2 separate regions of the Homo sapiens genome follow, and region 1 is linked to region 2. The links are contacts of gene promoters, found by promoter capture Hi-C in blood cells and fetal thymus (Javierre and others, 2016). All regions are on one chromosome and are shown on one strand. Each heading gives the region's core, a stretch centred on a gene start or on the middle of the fragment in contact. The rest is flanking DNA. Distances are from core to core; before and after follow the strand shown.

Region 1 (6,224 bases), core at 981-3,480, 300 kb before region 2:
TATTCAGGCCAGATTCTGTGGTTGGCCACGAAGTGAAGCCCTCATTAATAACCTATGTTCTTTCTCCCTTACTTGCAACACGTTAGTGCCAATCCCTAACCCCCAACCTATTGCTACCAGGACTCCAGGACTAAGCAAGGATATTTGGTGCCTGGAGGCAATGTCGTATGTTTATGCTGCCATTTGCAAACACTAGCATCTTTGAGGTCTCTCCACAGACTGGTTTTTGGGCGCATGGCCTCCTTCAGCATCCATGCCGTATGTACAGTTGTCTTTCTGTATCCCTGCCTTTCGGCTGTACGGTGTCACCGATGAAGGTCATGGGAACCACACTGACCTGGCCCAGTACAAAGCCATGTTATCTAATTTAACTTGCATCTTTGTTATTCCTGCCAAGCAATCCTGGTTATCTCCTTTCCTGCCATATTCCCCCTAAAAGTGAACTCACTTGACTTGAATCCTTCCTACTGGCTTTAAGTCAGTGATGTTGATTGTTGGAGAGGTACACTTTGCCCATGCCTAGTTTTTCTTTCTATGTATGTGGACTTTTCATTAGTAATGCTCTGACCTCATTCCAGGCCTTTATTTATTTTGGAGGAGGACGGCTCATTTGGTTGGAGATTGGGGACCAGGATACTGCATGCTTGTCTCTCTGTCTTGGTCTTCTGGTAGGCTTAGCGCGCAGGCTAAACTCTGCCTGTGGGAAGCGAGGCCTGTGGTGGCTGGTGCTGCCTGTGGCTAAGTGGGTATTCCTAATTCTGGGTGAGTAGTAGGCAAGAACGAAGCCACACCCTCCAGTACAACTTTTATTACTAATAAAACTGATTTTTTTTTCTCTATCCTCCTGAAGTCTGCATCTGTCTCTGAATTGGCTTTCAAAGTCAGATCAGGAACAAGGGTGTCATCCACTGGCACATCAAAATTTCAACATTTAAGCCATCTCCTTCCTATTATCCAAGCAACCTTGAACCCTATGAATTTAGAAGATTAAGGTATTCAGACAGGATCATCCCCAAATGTCTTCCCCATCACTGCGCATTTGCCGTTCTACAACCTTCTCTACATGCAAAGAATCCCCCACCTCCTTCCTAAGACTGATCTCTCTTTCAGTTCCTCTAGTTACTATCTTGTTTCTTCTAGGTAGGTCTCCATTACCAGCCATTTCTCTTTCTGGTCACATGGGAAGAGGATGCCAAATAAAAAGATTTCAAAGCCACAAATTGCTGATTTCCCATCAAGCCTGCAGGCAATCCAGGATGGGGCATGATGTCTCATGCCTGTAATCCCAGCACTTTGGGAGGCTAAGGCGGGAGGACCGCTTGAGGCCAGGAGTTCCAGACCAGCCTGGGCAACATAGTGAGATCCTGTATCTACAAAATATGCAAAAATTAGCTGGGTGTGGTGGTGCACGCCTGTAGCCTCAGCTACTCAGGAAGCTGAGGCAGTAGACTCACTTGAGCCCAGGAACTGGAGGCTGTAGTGAGCTATGATCATCCCACTGTACTCCAGCCTGGGCAACAAAGCAGTACCCTGTCTCTAGAATTAAAAAAAAAAAAAAAAAAGACAAAACACTTTAATCCATATCCACAAATCTGACAAGAAACCACTTAATCCAGAAAGTTTTGGGGGAATCAGAAAATGCTATTATAGGTTTAGCTCATCTAAGACCCATAGCTTCTTAAGCACAAGGCCAACTACACTTAAAATGTATAATTTATGAGTTATATCCTGCATATTGTGAAATGTCAGACATTAATAAAATGTATGTAAATGGAGGTAGACGATATAAAAAAAGCAGAGAAGAGGCAACGTACCCCACATATTTCAAAATCCTATAGTAATATATTTGATAATTTAATATTAAGTTTGGTGTTAAGCTTCCTTGAAGCCATGGAAAAAAGGAAAACACACTGGATAACATAATTCTCATTGAGAAAAGGAAGTTGGGTCTCTGACAAAATTTTGTCAGGAAAGATTCTTTCTAGCCCAATTGCTCTTGAACCTGTGAACCTGTGATAAGGGATGCTGAACCACAAAGAGAACAGTGTGCTCCGTAGTGGATGTGCAGAAGACACAGATAGCCTCAAATCTCCCAATGATAAGGACTCATGTTGCCAAATATTCTCCTGGAGCAATGAGGACAGAACACATGGGTTGACGAGGTCTACTTTGGCCATGCTGCCAGAAGTTGACCAGACATGGTGGCCCATGCCTGTAATCCCAGCATTTTGGAAGGCTGAGGCAGGAGGATAGCTTGAGCCCAGGAGTTTGAGATCAGCCTGGGCAACATAGTGAGACCCTGTTTCTACAAATAATAATAAAAAAGGAGTTGTTTATAAAATGTTCTTATCCCACCAGCCCTCATGGCTCTTTGATGTTATCCCTTTGAGCAAAAAGATGGTGCCAACACCAACACTTGTTATCCTTCCTGTGGCACAATCCTTTGGCTCTTGAGTCTGCTCCTACTTCCTTATAGTAAAACCAGTGTCTTGAACCTGGAGGGAGCATAGCTGGTTTCCTTTTTGATATTCCATGAGGGAACTCATTAAGGATGGGATAGAAATTTATATTCGAATCAGGAGAAAAGCTTTTAAGTCATCCATTCGTTCAAAAAAATCTCGAGGCTGAGGCAGGATTGCTGAGGCCAGGAGTTTGAGACCTGCCTGGGCAACACAGTGAGACTTCCTCTCTACTAAAATAAAAAATAAAAAAAATTAGCTGGGCGTGGTGGCACATACATGTATTCCCAGCTACTTCAGAGGCTGATGCAGAAGGCTCGCTTGAGTCCAGGAGGTTGAGGCTGTGGTGAGACCTGATTGTGCCACTGCACTGGGCACAGAGCGAGACCTTGTCTCAAAAACAAAAACAAAAACAAAAACAGAAACAAAAGTCTGGCTCCTACTATGTGGATATGTGCAGGCTCTAGGTATATCATGGTGGACCAAACCCAGACATGGCCCTGCCTTCATGCAGCTTAAGGCCTGAGGGTCCTGACCTAGTCTAAGGTGTGAGGTGGTGAAGTTTTCCATAAGGAATTGGCATTTGGGCAGAGATCCAAGGAAGAGGAGCAGGGAAGGAGGGTGAGGTGCATCAGACAGAGGGCACAGCCCATGCAGAGCCCCTGTGGCAGGAAGGAAGCAGTGCTTTGAGGAAATGAAAGAGAAATGGAATACAGAGCATGAAGGAGAAGATAGTGCATGGCAAAGCCAGAGAGAGGGCAGGGCCTTGCAGGCCTGAGGACAGTGGGGGCCACAGAGGGTTTTTCAGGAAAGCCAGTGCAGGAGGGAACAGGACCCCATGAGAGCTGACAGTGCAACATGGATTGAAACAGCAGAAACAAATATGGAGAGCTCAGGTAGGGGCAGCTACAGGAATGGAAGTGGAAAATGATGGAAGCCTGTACTAGGTGCGTTGGGGTAGGGATGAAAAAAATAAGTGGATCAGGATGTATTCACGAGGGGAAGTAAACAGAACTTGATGATTGTTAGTGAAGAAGAGGGAGGTGCCACAATGATTTGCCAGTTTGCTAACTGAGCTTAATGGCGATGCCATTCACAGAGACTGGAGTGCAAGTTTGGGAGGAGAACCCTGAGAGCAGGGCCCCTATGACATCTAAGTGGGCGTGGTTGGTAGGACTGACCCAGTGTTGTGTCAATCAATGCTGAATCGTATTGCAAATCTCATTGCAGGACTGAATGTTGGATCTTACAAAATGTTGGAACTTTTTGAGAAAAAATAAATGGTTAAATTGTTAGCATTTTATAGGTAAATTTCCAAACATTAGGAGAGAACCATGAATTTGGTTTCTGCACAGAAGCACTAAAAGCACCCTGCGTGGAGGAGAATGATTAATGGGTACCCATCCTGTGTGAACACGCCTGTAAAACTGAGTCATGAGAATTGGTAGCTCAGCTCTGAAAGCTACCAAGACAACAGGGAGACAAGGCAGGGGCTGACATGCTCCTAACCAGACCCTACAGACTGAATAGTGCTGGCGAAGACACGACCGAGAGAAGAGCAGGAAAATCATCAAATGGGAAATGGTGATGCAGAAAATAAAACTAATTTTATATAGAAAGAATATTAAAGAAATGGCAGAAATGCTTGAGTACTTCAAGTGTGATTTTTAAAGTAGTCACAGGTGCCCAAATAGCTACTTTTATTTCCATCCTCCCACCTTATCCCTTGCTTCTCAGCTGGCTTGGCTAAGAGGGAAGGAAAACTCCCTTCTCCTCAAGCCTTCTCCTCTTTCTGTCTTGGGCATTCACCTGTGAGTCAGCCTGACAAGGCCAAGGGAAATGGAGGGGCAAGAATGTGCTCCCATCGCTCCTGGGATCTCAGCCGAGGGAAACAGGAAGCAGCATGTTTTCTCTGCCCTACACACTTTCATCCCTATTACGTGTGCACAGAGCCCCCAGAGAAAAATGCAATTTGGTAGTGACCTGATAACCACACTCTTGCAGCTTTGGTCCAAGAATGGTAAAAATCCAAGGAATGCCGGGGAAGGGAGAGGGGGAGGCAGAGCAAAACAAAACACAATCTCCATTGTAAATGACTGGTTAAAATTACGTTCAAGTTAATGTCTAACTAAAAAGTGGAAATTGGATTACATGGGGTACCTTAACTTTCTCATGAAGAAATAATTTTTATACCTTGAAAGTTTAGCAATTACTGTTAAAGCATCAAAGAAACATTTCAAAGTTTTATTAAAAATTCACCTTGGTAAGGAAGAAAGGTGGTGCAGGTAACCCTAGAGTTTAGCTGGTTGGATTTGGTTGGGTCACAAGGTGACTGGGTCTAGGAGGGAACCGAGGCCAGGGACCCACAGTTGCCATCTCCCCTCCTGTGGGCTGGGGCAGAGTTCACTGGCCTCAACATGCACCAGGGAGACCTAAGGTGCATCTGTGAATTCTGTTGTAATTGTTTGGGAACTGTCAGCTGCAATATCTTTTTGAAGTCCCACCCTGTTTTTATGGCTCTCAATGTGTCTGTTAGGAAACTTTAATTCTGTGTACTCAAGGATAGAAAGCAGAGCTAGGCATGGCTCCTCTGAGCTCATCCTTCTGGCCACGTTGTTAGTGAAACCCTTTGGAACAGCGTGTTATCAGTCACCAAGATCTTTAGCAGGCTGAAAATGCTTTTAGTAAATGATAAAGGCTCTCAAAACTTACGTGATAAAAAGTGCAGACAGTGAAGGTCCATTGCTCCTGTCTACCCTTTGCCAGTTGCTCTTTCCTAGCTTAGGGTAGAGCAATACTACGAAGTTTGGAAAATGTCACCATTTCTGTACCTCGCGACCTGACTTCATTTACTCATTCACTGGTTCACACATCCTGCATTCATTCACTCTGCATTTATTAAGCATCACCGCGGAGATTAGGCTGACCTTGCTGGGTACTGCGGATGTGAAGGTGTCTGAAAGACACACCCTGCCCTAGTTTAGCGGATCCCACCCTCATGGGGCCAGACACCTCACCCCCCACCCTGCACCCCACCCCTCCCAGTTCCCACTCTCAGGGGAGCCCCAGGAGGGAGCCTTTTCCTCTGCCCTGTGAGGCTGGGAAAGGTGTTGCCAAGGTGCAGCAAGCAGCTAGGCCGGATGAGGAGGGCAGTCCCCTGGGGAGGACCATGCTCGCAAAGGGAAGTTAGGAACAAGAGCTGGGAGAAGGATGGCTTTCTGTAGCTTCCATTAACCTTGCGGAAACACCCCCACTTTGGGGTAGGGGGTGAAGGTAGTCAACTGTTAGGTTTTCTTTCGGCCCAGGATAAATAAATGTCATTCCCTTCTATATCCAATGCACAGTTATTACCTAGTAACTTTCTCACTATTTCGTGGGAACCACGTTAAAACCTAAAGTTTAAATAAAACAGGAGAACTCGGAGTGCATGTTTAAATGAACTCTGGCATCCCCCATAGAGTGGGGCGCCCGAGTCAGCAAACCCTTGGCTCACGGGCCCGCGGTGGGGACGCTACACGTACCTTTCAGAAGTGACCCGGATGCGCTCGTCGCTGGACGACTGCTGCTCATCCTCCTTCTCCCGGAAGTGCTCCTGCACGCACTGCTCCTCGAACTCATGCAGCCTCTTTAGCTCCTCGTCGCTAAGGAAGAGCTCTGTGTGAAGGGAGAAGTGTCGGCCACGTGAAAAACAAGAAGAATCAGTTTCGTGGCGTCAATGAGAATTTCACAGCCCCACTTTAATTAAGCTCTCTTCTCCGCCACTCC
Region 2 (6,295 bases), core at 2,613-5,112:
GGATAAATTTTTTGAAACCTCATGCGTCTGAAAAATACTTGGTTTATAGTTTGGCTGGGTGAAGGCTGGAAAATAATTTTCCTTTACATTTATTTCCCATGGCTTTGTTCCCTTCCTTCTAACTTCAACTGGTTGTTGTGGAGAGGCCCACAGTCATTCTGACCCGACTATCCGTAGGTGACCTGTTTTAATGTTAGGACACTTTTGTCCCCTGCATTCTGAAACTCACCAATGATATGCCTTGGCGTAGAGCTATTCTTTCCCACTGTGTTGGGCTCTCTCCCTTTCAGCATATGTCGTGAAGGCCTCTCTTGGATTAATAATTCATTGACGATTTTCTCTCTTGTGTTTTCTCTGATCACCTGTTTGGGTCCCTACTCATTGATCAATAATTTTTTTGGTTGGTCCACTAATTTAGCTTTTCTCTACTTTCCATTTTTTAAAAAAAATTTTGGTTCTACTTTCAAGGAGGTTTTTTACTTTTACATTTCTGTTACCTTGTAAACATCTCAAGAACACTTTTTTTCCCCTGAATGTTTCTTTATATATGTTCTCCCTTCACAGGTTGTATGTCTTTTAAAATTTAATGACATTATTGATGGTTTTGTTGATGTTTCTTTCTTTCTGCATAGTCTGTTTCTTCCAACTTGCTTTTTAAAAACTCTATTGTGGCTTTGTATTTCATGACACAGGGTTTCCTGAGATGCCGGTCAGCTCTGGCTCCCTGCTTGTCCTTGGCCTGGGAGGGACTGAGAGGCTGATGAGAACTTCTGTGCACATGAGTGGCAGTGTTAACTGTGGCCTTCCCTATAGGGTGAGCTGGCTGTTTAATTGGGCAGCCACAAATGTTAGAATGTCTGGGTGTTTCCCCTTGGCATGGTTGGCTACCCCAGGAAAGACCCTTCTAGTCTCCTGGCTGCTTGCATTCTGAAATCCCAAAAAGGGGTTTGTGGGTCTCAGCATCCAGTATCCATGTGTGTATTTAATCCCCTGATCCTATTACCGTACCTCTGTCCTTAATTGTGCCTGGTGTCCACCTACCCAAGACGCTGCCTTTTAGTTTTTTCAGGTCATAAATATCCAGCCTTTCGTCAGAACAAGGAAGGGGCAGTTGTCAGGCTGCATGAAATTGGGGTGCAGATATGGGCATCTGAGTGCTCCTCAAGCTGACGTTCTGCCAATCTTATTTTCACCCCCGTTTACTCTCACATTCAGAGGTACGTAGTGCCACCCATTAGTGAACCTTCTGGGGGATTCCATGGAGTATGTTCTTAGCTTTCCTTCCTAGCTACTATCTCAGGGTTTCATTTTCTTGGATCTGCTAAGTATTTTAGCTTCAAGAACTGCGTTGCTGTTACTTCCTCTCTTGTTCTCCCTGTCTTTGTGGATTTCTGCCTTCTAACAAATGCTCCAGAAGGAAGTTAAAGTCAATACATACTAACCATCCACCAACTTTACCCAGAAACTCAACCACCCTTTCAGCCTTCAGTCTCTATACGCCCCAGACACACCTGCTCTGCTTTTCTGTTGCTTCCATTTGAAACGAGACGACCCAGCCCTCACATATACATATGCCATCTCTGTCAAAATCTTACTTAGAAAAGAAAACATGGACTCTTAGCTAAGAGGAGATTTTCTTTGGGGAAGAGCTGTCTGTCCGGAAGACCCTTCCATGTAGGTTTGGGATAAAGTCAGTGAACACCACGACAATCATCAAATGAGTGGATTTTTGAGAAACCAGCCAAGGAGCTCAGTTTTCTATACAGAATGCCACAGAGCACAGTCAAAATTCTTTGGGACCCACATTCTTGGAAAACTCTTAGGGGGGTGCATCAATGCAGAGGACCCTTGACCACGTAGGGCATCCCCTCACCCAAGGCAGGCCTGTTTTGTTCATGGCTGTAGTAGCCTAATACTAGAATAGTGCAGACTCTAGACGGCCTACCATTGTGTATGCCGGCTGGGGTGACCCAGTGGGGAGACGTGGCACCTTGAAGATTGGGGAGAATTCTGCTGGCTGGAAAGGGGCCAGGAGGGTATGGGTGGCTGATAAGCTGGTGTAGGACCACTCCTTCCTTAAGAAGTGACTAATTGTGACATGTGGTGGGAATAGAGGAACATTCCGAATCATTACTTGGTCAGGACACACGTCTCTTATTAAATGTCATCAACACAATCTGCCTGGAAGAAACACGATTACTTTCTACCAAGCACAGACCCTCCTAAAGGGACCAGACCCAGTCCAGCACCTTTAGTCTCCCCAGAGGGTAGCAACTCAATCAGCGAGACCGCATTTCAGGGTTTTAGTTACAGATACTGAGGGTGCTCAAACATCCATGCAGTTTGCTGTTCACCGTAACACGCAACCCAGAATGGCCGTTTCGGTCCCTCGTCGGTTACCTGAAAACCAGTCTTACTGAGCTCCAACCCCAAATTAATTTGGTGAGAACTCGAACTCGGCTATTAACCTTAATTCTGAGAGAAGAATGACACCCCCCTCCCACTGCGAGGGTCCACTGAGGGTGAGTGCCCGGGCTCCTTCATTCTCCAGGCTCCTCTCAGAACACAGCAAGGGTGGCTGACTCCTTCGAACGTCCATTAAGCACAATGCAACGGGGCGAGGCAGTAGGGGGTTTGCTGAGCCCGGTTCCGCGGCGGTGGGAAGTTATTCACCGGCGTCTCCGAGGACGGCCCAGGCCTGGAGAATGGCTGGGGCCGCGGGCTGGGGTAGGGGTTACCGTGAGAGTCAAGGGCAAGGTGGCCCAGCCCGGGCTGGGAGGCGCGGGCTGGGCGCAGCCGAGCATTTCCTCCGGGAGGCCCAGACAGCGGGCGGGTGGGGCGCGGTGGGCGGGGTCCTCGCAGCTGGTGGCGTTTGAAGCCCCCCCGACCGCGGTGGGAGAGGGGCAGCCTAGAAGAGTTGGCAGCGGGCCTGCGGCGGGATGGGGAGGAAGGGGCCCCGCGTTCCCTCAGCAGCGGCGCCGGCCGCCCTGGCACGTAGTTCGCTTCTGGAGGCACAGGCCGCGGTGGGCGCGCCACCCGGGCTGCCAGGCTCACCGCCAGCCGAGGCCAGTCCTGCTCGGGCTGACCCGAGCTGAAGGGCAGCGCGGCCGCACCCCGGACCCCAGGAACGAGCCCGAGTCTGTCCCTCCCGCGGGAGCTGCCCCGCCCGGACTCCCGGAGCTCTGCAAGGCAGGGGCGTGGGGAGGGCGAGCGGCCTGAGGCTCTAGGCGCGGCCACCCGGCAAGCCGGCGGCGGAGGGCGCGGCGCGAGTGCGTTCCGCCCCTAGGCAGCCCCGCGCCCGGCCGGGCAGACACGCCTCCCCGCCGGCGCCCATCGCGGGAGGAACAAATGGCGCCCTCCAGAAACCGCTCCCCTCCATGCCGGGGGCCAAGGCTGTCACCACATAAAAGCTCCGGCAGAGAAGTGCTCGCTGTGTCCCCGCCGCGGGGGGTACAAGCAGCCGCTCCGCGCCGCGACTACCCGGCCCGCCGCCCCCGGACGTCATGCGTCAGCGCGCCCCGCTCCAGTTTCCGCCCCTCCTCCCACCGGCCCAGGGGACACGCCCACTGGCGCGCGCAGGGCCCGGGACCGGGCACGCCCCTCTAACGGCTCGGATTGGCCTGGCCGTGCACTCACGGACCAATGGCGTCTGTCCCGGCCCTCGGTCACGCCCCCTTGCCCAGGCGCGGGCACGCGACCGCTCCGTTCCGCCGGTGCGCGCTCTGGGGTCCCCGCCCCCTCCGCGCGCGCAGCTCCCCGCAGCCGCCGCCGCCTGTAACCTGCGCCGCCAGGATGTGGCTGGGGGCTGACGTCGGGTCCAGATGTGGCCCCGGCCCCGCCCACCCCCGGGGCCGGGCCGCCCACACGGAGCCGCGGCGCGCACGGCAGCTGTCCCGCCTGCCACAATGCGCGGCGAAGCTGCGGCCGCGACTTGGCGAGGTGGTCCCTAACGTTGCCGCTCGGCATCCTTAGAACCGGCCGCCCCTGACGCCGCGCGGGGACCCCAGTCGCCCGCGCGCCCCATGCGCTCACTCTTCGGTGCCCGGCCGGGCCGGCGCCTCGCAGACGCGGAGCCGCGCGGGTGACGGCACAGGCGGCTGCGCGCCCAGCCCAGCCCAGCCCAGCCCGAGGAGAGGGCGCGCCGCGCCCCCGCCCCCCGCCCGCTCTCCCGAGGCCGTGGGTGCGGATGCGCGGCTGACGACTCGCAGCAAGAGCACCGCCGCCGGCCCCAGCCCGCAGCATGGCAGCCGCCGCCTATGTGGACCACTTCGCCGCCGAGTGCCTCGTGTCCATGTCGAGCCGCGCGGTCGTGCACGGGCCGCGGGAGGGGCCGGAGTCCCGGCCCGAGGGCGCGGCCGTGGCCGCCACCCCCACGCTGCCCCGCGTCGAGGAGCGCCGCGACGGTAAGGACAGCGCCTCGCTCTTCGTGGTGGCGCGGATCCTAGCGGACCTCAACCAGCAAGCGCCGGCGCCCGCCCCGGCGGAGCGCAGGGAGGGCGCCGCGGCCCGGAAGGCGAGGACCCCCTGCCGCCTGCCGCCGCCCGCCCCCGAGCCCACCTCCCCCGGCGCCGAAGGCGCGGCGGCCGCGCCCCCCAGCCCGGCGTGGAGCGAGCCGGAGCCCGAGGCGGGGCTGGAGCCCGAGCGGGAGCCGGGGCCCGCGGGGAGCGGCGAGCCCGGCCTCAGACAAAGGGTCCGGCGGGGCCGAAGTCGCGCCGACCTCGAGTCCCCGCAGAGGAAGCACAAGTGCCACTACGCGGGCTGCGAGAAAGTTTACGGGAAATCTTCGCACCTCAAGGCGCACCTGAGAACTCACACAGGTCAGTGGGGCGGCGCGGGCGCCCGGATCGCGCGGACGGGGTCGGCGCGAGCTGCCCGACCACGCCCCCGGAGTCCCCGATGGGGCGCGAGGTGGGGGCCGGGCGGGCCGGAACGCCCGGGGCCTCGCCCCTTCCCCTGCCGCTCCGACCCGCGGCTGGCCCCGCGCGTCGCGCGAGGCGGGTCTTGGCTCTCGGAGCCGGCGCCCGCCAGGCGACCGCGCCCCCGCCGGGCACGCCCCCTCCCCGGGCGCGCTCGGGTGGGGCCGCGGGGGCGGATATAGTCATCTGGGCTGGGGGCGGGGACCCCTCCCGGCCGGGAGGCGGCGCGGGCAGGTGCGGGCGGCCTGGGTGTGGACCGCAGGCGGCACTCGTGACGGTGGGGCGCCCGGAGCGGGGGCAGGGGACGCTCTCCGGGGTCCCTCCTCGTTTCCTCCCCCGCTGCCCGGGCGCGCGCTCAGGAGGGGAGGGGCCGGCCCCGGCGCGCGGCGGGCGAAGTTCACGCAGGGACAAGGTTTCCTTCGCCACTCGGCACATTCTTCGCTCTCTTCTTCCTGTAATTTTTCCAGCGCTCTAAGGTTTAATTTGTCGTAACCAAAGTCAGCGGCGGCGCTTGGCGATGCGGGGGGCGGTCCCGGGTCCCGCTCCCCGCCTGCGGCTCTTTGTGGGAGCCCCCGCCCATCCGGCCCGGCGGGGGCGCGCCCGGCCCTAGGCTCCTCGGCCTCGAGGCTCTCTCCGGAAAGGAATGCCCTGGCCGCTGCCCATCCTCCGTGCTGCCCTCTCGCCTGCCCACCTCTCACCTGCCCTGGGCCGGTGCGGGGCGGGCGGCACCTGCACCAGGGCGGGCGCTGAGCCTCCAGCCTGGGGATCACCGCCCGCCCCCGCCAGCCCAGCGGCAACAGTTCCCACGCGCGGCCCGATACTTTGTAGTTGATTCATCTGTGGCGGTTCCCTCCCCCCTTTTTGTTTCGTTTTTAACATAAAGATGAAAATATTTTAATGGACGGCAATCCTTCCCCATTTTGGTGTAAAGAATTGTATGCTTCCTCTGAGCTCACGTGAGTTCTTCTGTGACACTCACCTCTTCTACCTTGGGGGCAGGCTCAAAACCCGTCTACTGAATACTGTTGTCTTGTGACCAAGGGTGGTGGTCTCTCATTTGTAAAATAGTTCACATAGTGATTAAAAGGCATAAAAAGAAGCTGCAGCCTTGGATACCCTAGAGCTGAAGGCCCCTTTTTTTTACCATTTGGAACTGAAAGGGCCCAAGGTCTGCAGGTGAGGCTTTCAGATCTCGGACTAACTTTCCCCAGGGAGGCTTTTGTGGCCGCTCCAAACCACGTGGCAGGTGATGGGGTAGAGGGTGAGAGCGGGGCCATTTCTAGGCATTCGGGGTCAGTTAAGGGTGTGGGGGCTCAGGTTGGGGGTGGGAGTCAGTGTGGGCTCAGAGTTCAGCTCGGGACGCGGCTGCAGGGTGGGTG

The links. Contacts are between HindIII fragments. The CHiCAGO score rates a contact against its expected background, and 5 or more counts as called.
Region 1: a fragment that was not itself captured here is called in contact with the fragment with the promoter of KLF13 in region 2 in 2 of 17 cell types (total B cells and neutrophils); the score reaches 6.9 in total B cells.

Annotation. Positions count from the first base shown.
Region 1 is chr15:31,020,159-31,026,382 of GRCh38, forward strand. TRPM1 (transient receptor potential cation channel subfamily M member 1) reads right to left here. Exons shown (of 28, transcript NM_001252024.2): 27 at 5,981-6,113. It also overlaps a transcript of TRPM1-AS1 not described here. Among named protein-coding and RNA genes, the nearest start is that of TRPM1-AS1, 3.6 kb to the right of the region's middle. RefSeq lists enhancers at 4,248-4,542, 5,723-6,224. The HindIII fragment of the contact is 710 bases long and covers 1,876-2,585 here.
Region 2 is chr15:31,322,973-31,329,267 of GRCh38, forward strand. It overlaps KLF13 (KLF transcription factor 13), which reads left to right and starts at 3,863. Exons shown (of 2, transcript NM_015995.4): 1 at 3,863-4,817. The coding sequence starts at 4,241. RefSeq lists a promoter at 2,988-4,044 and an enhancer at 3,072-3,585. The HindIII fragment of the contact is 12,301 bases long and covers 1-6,295 here.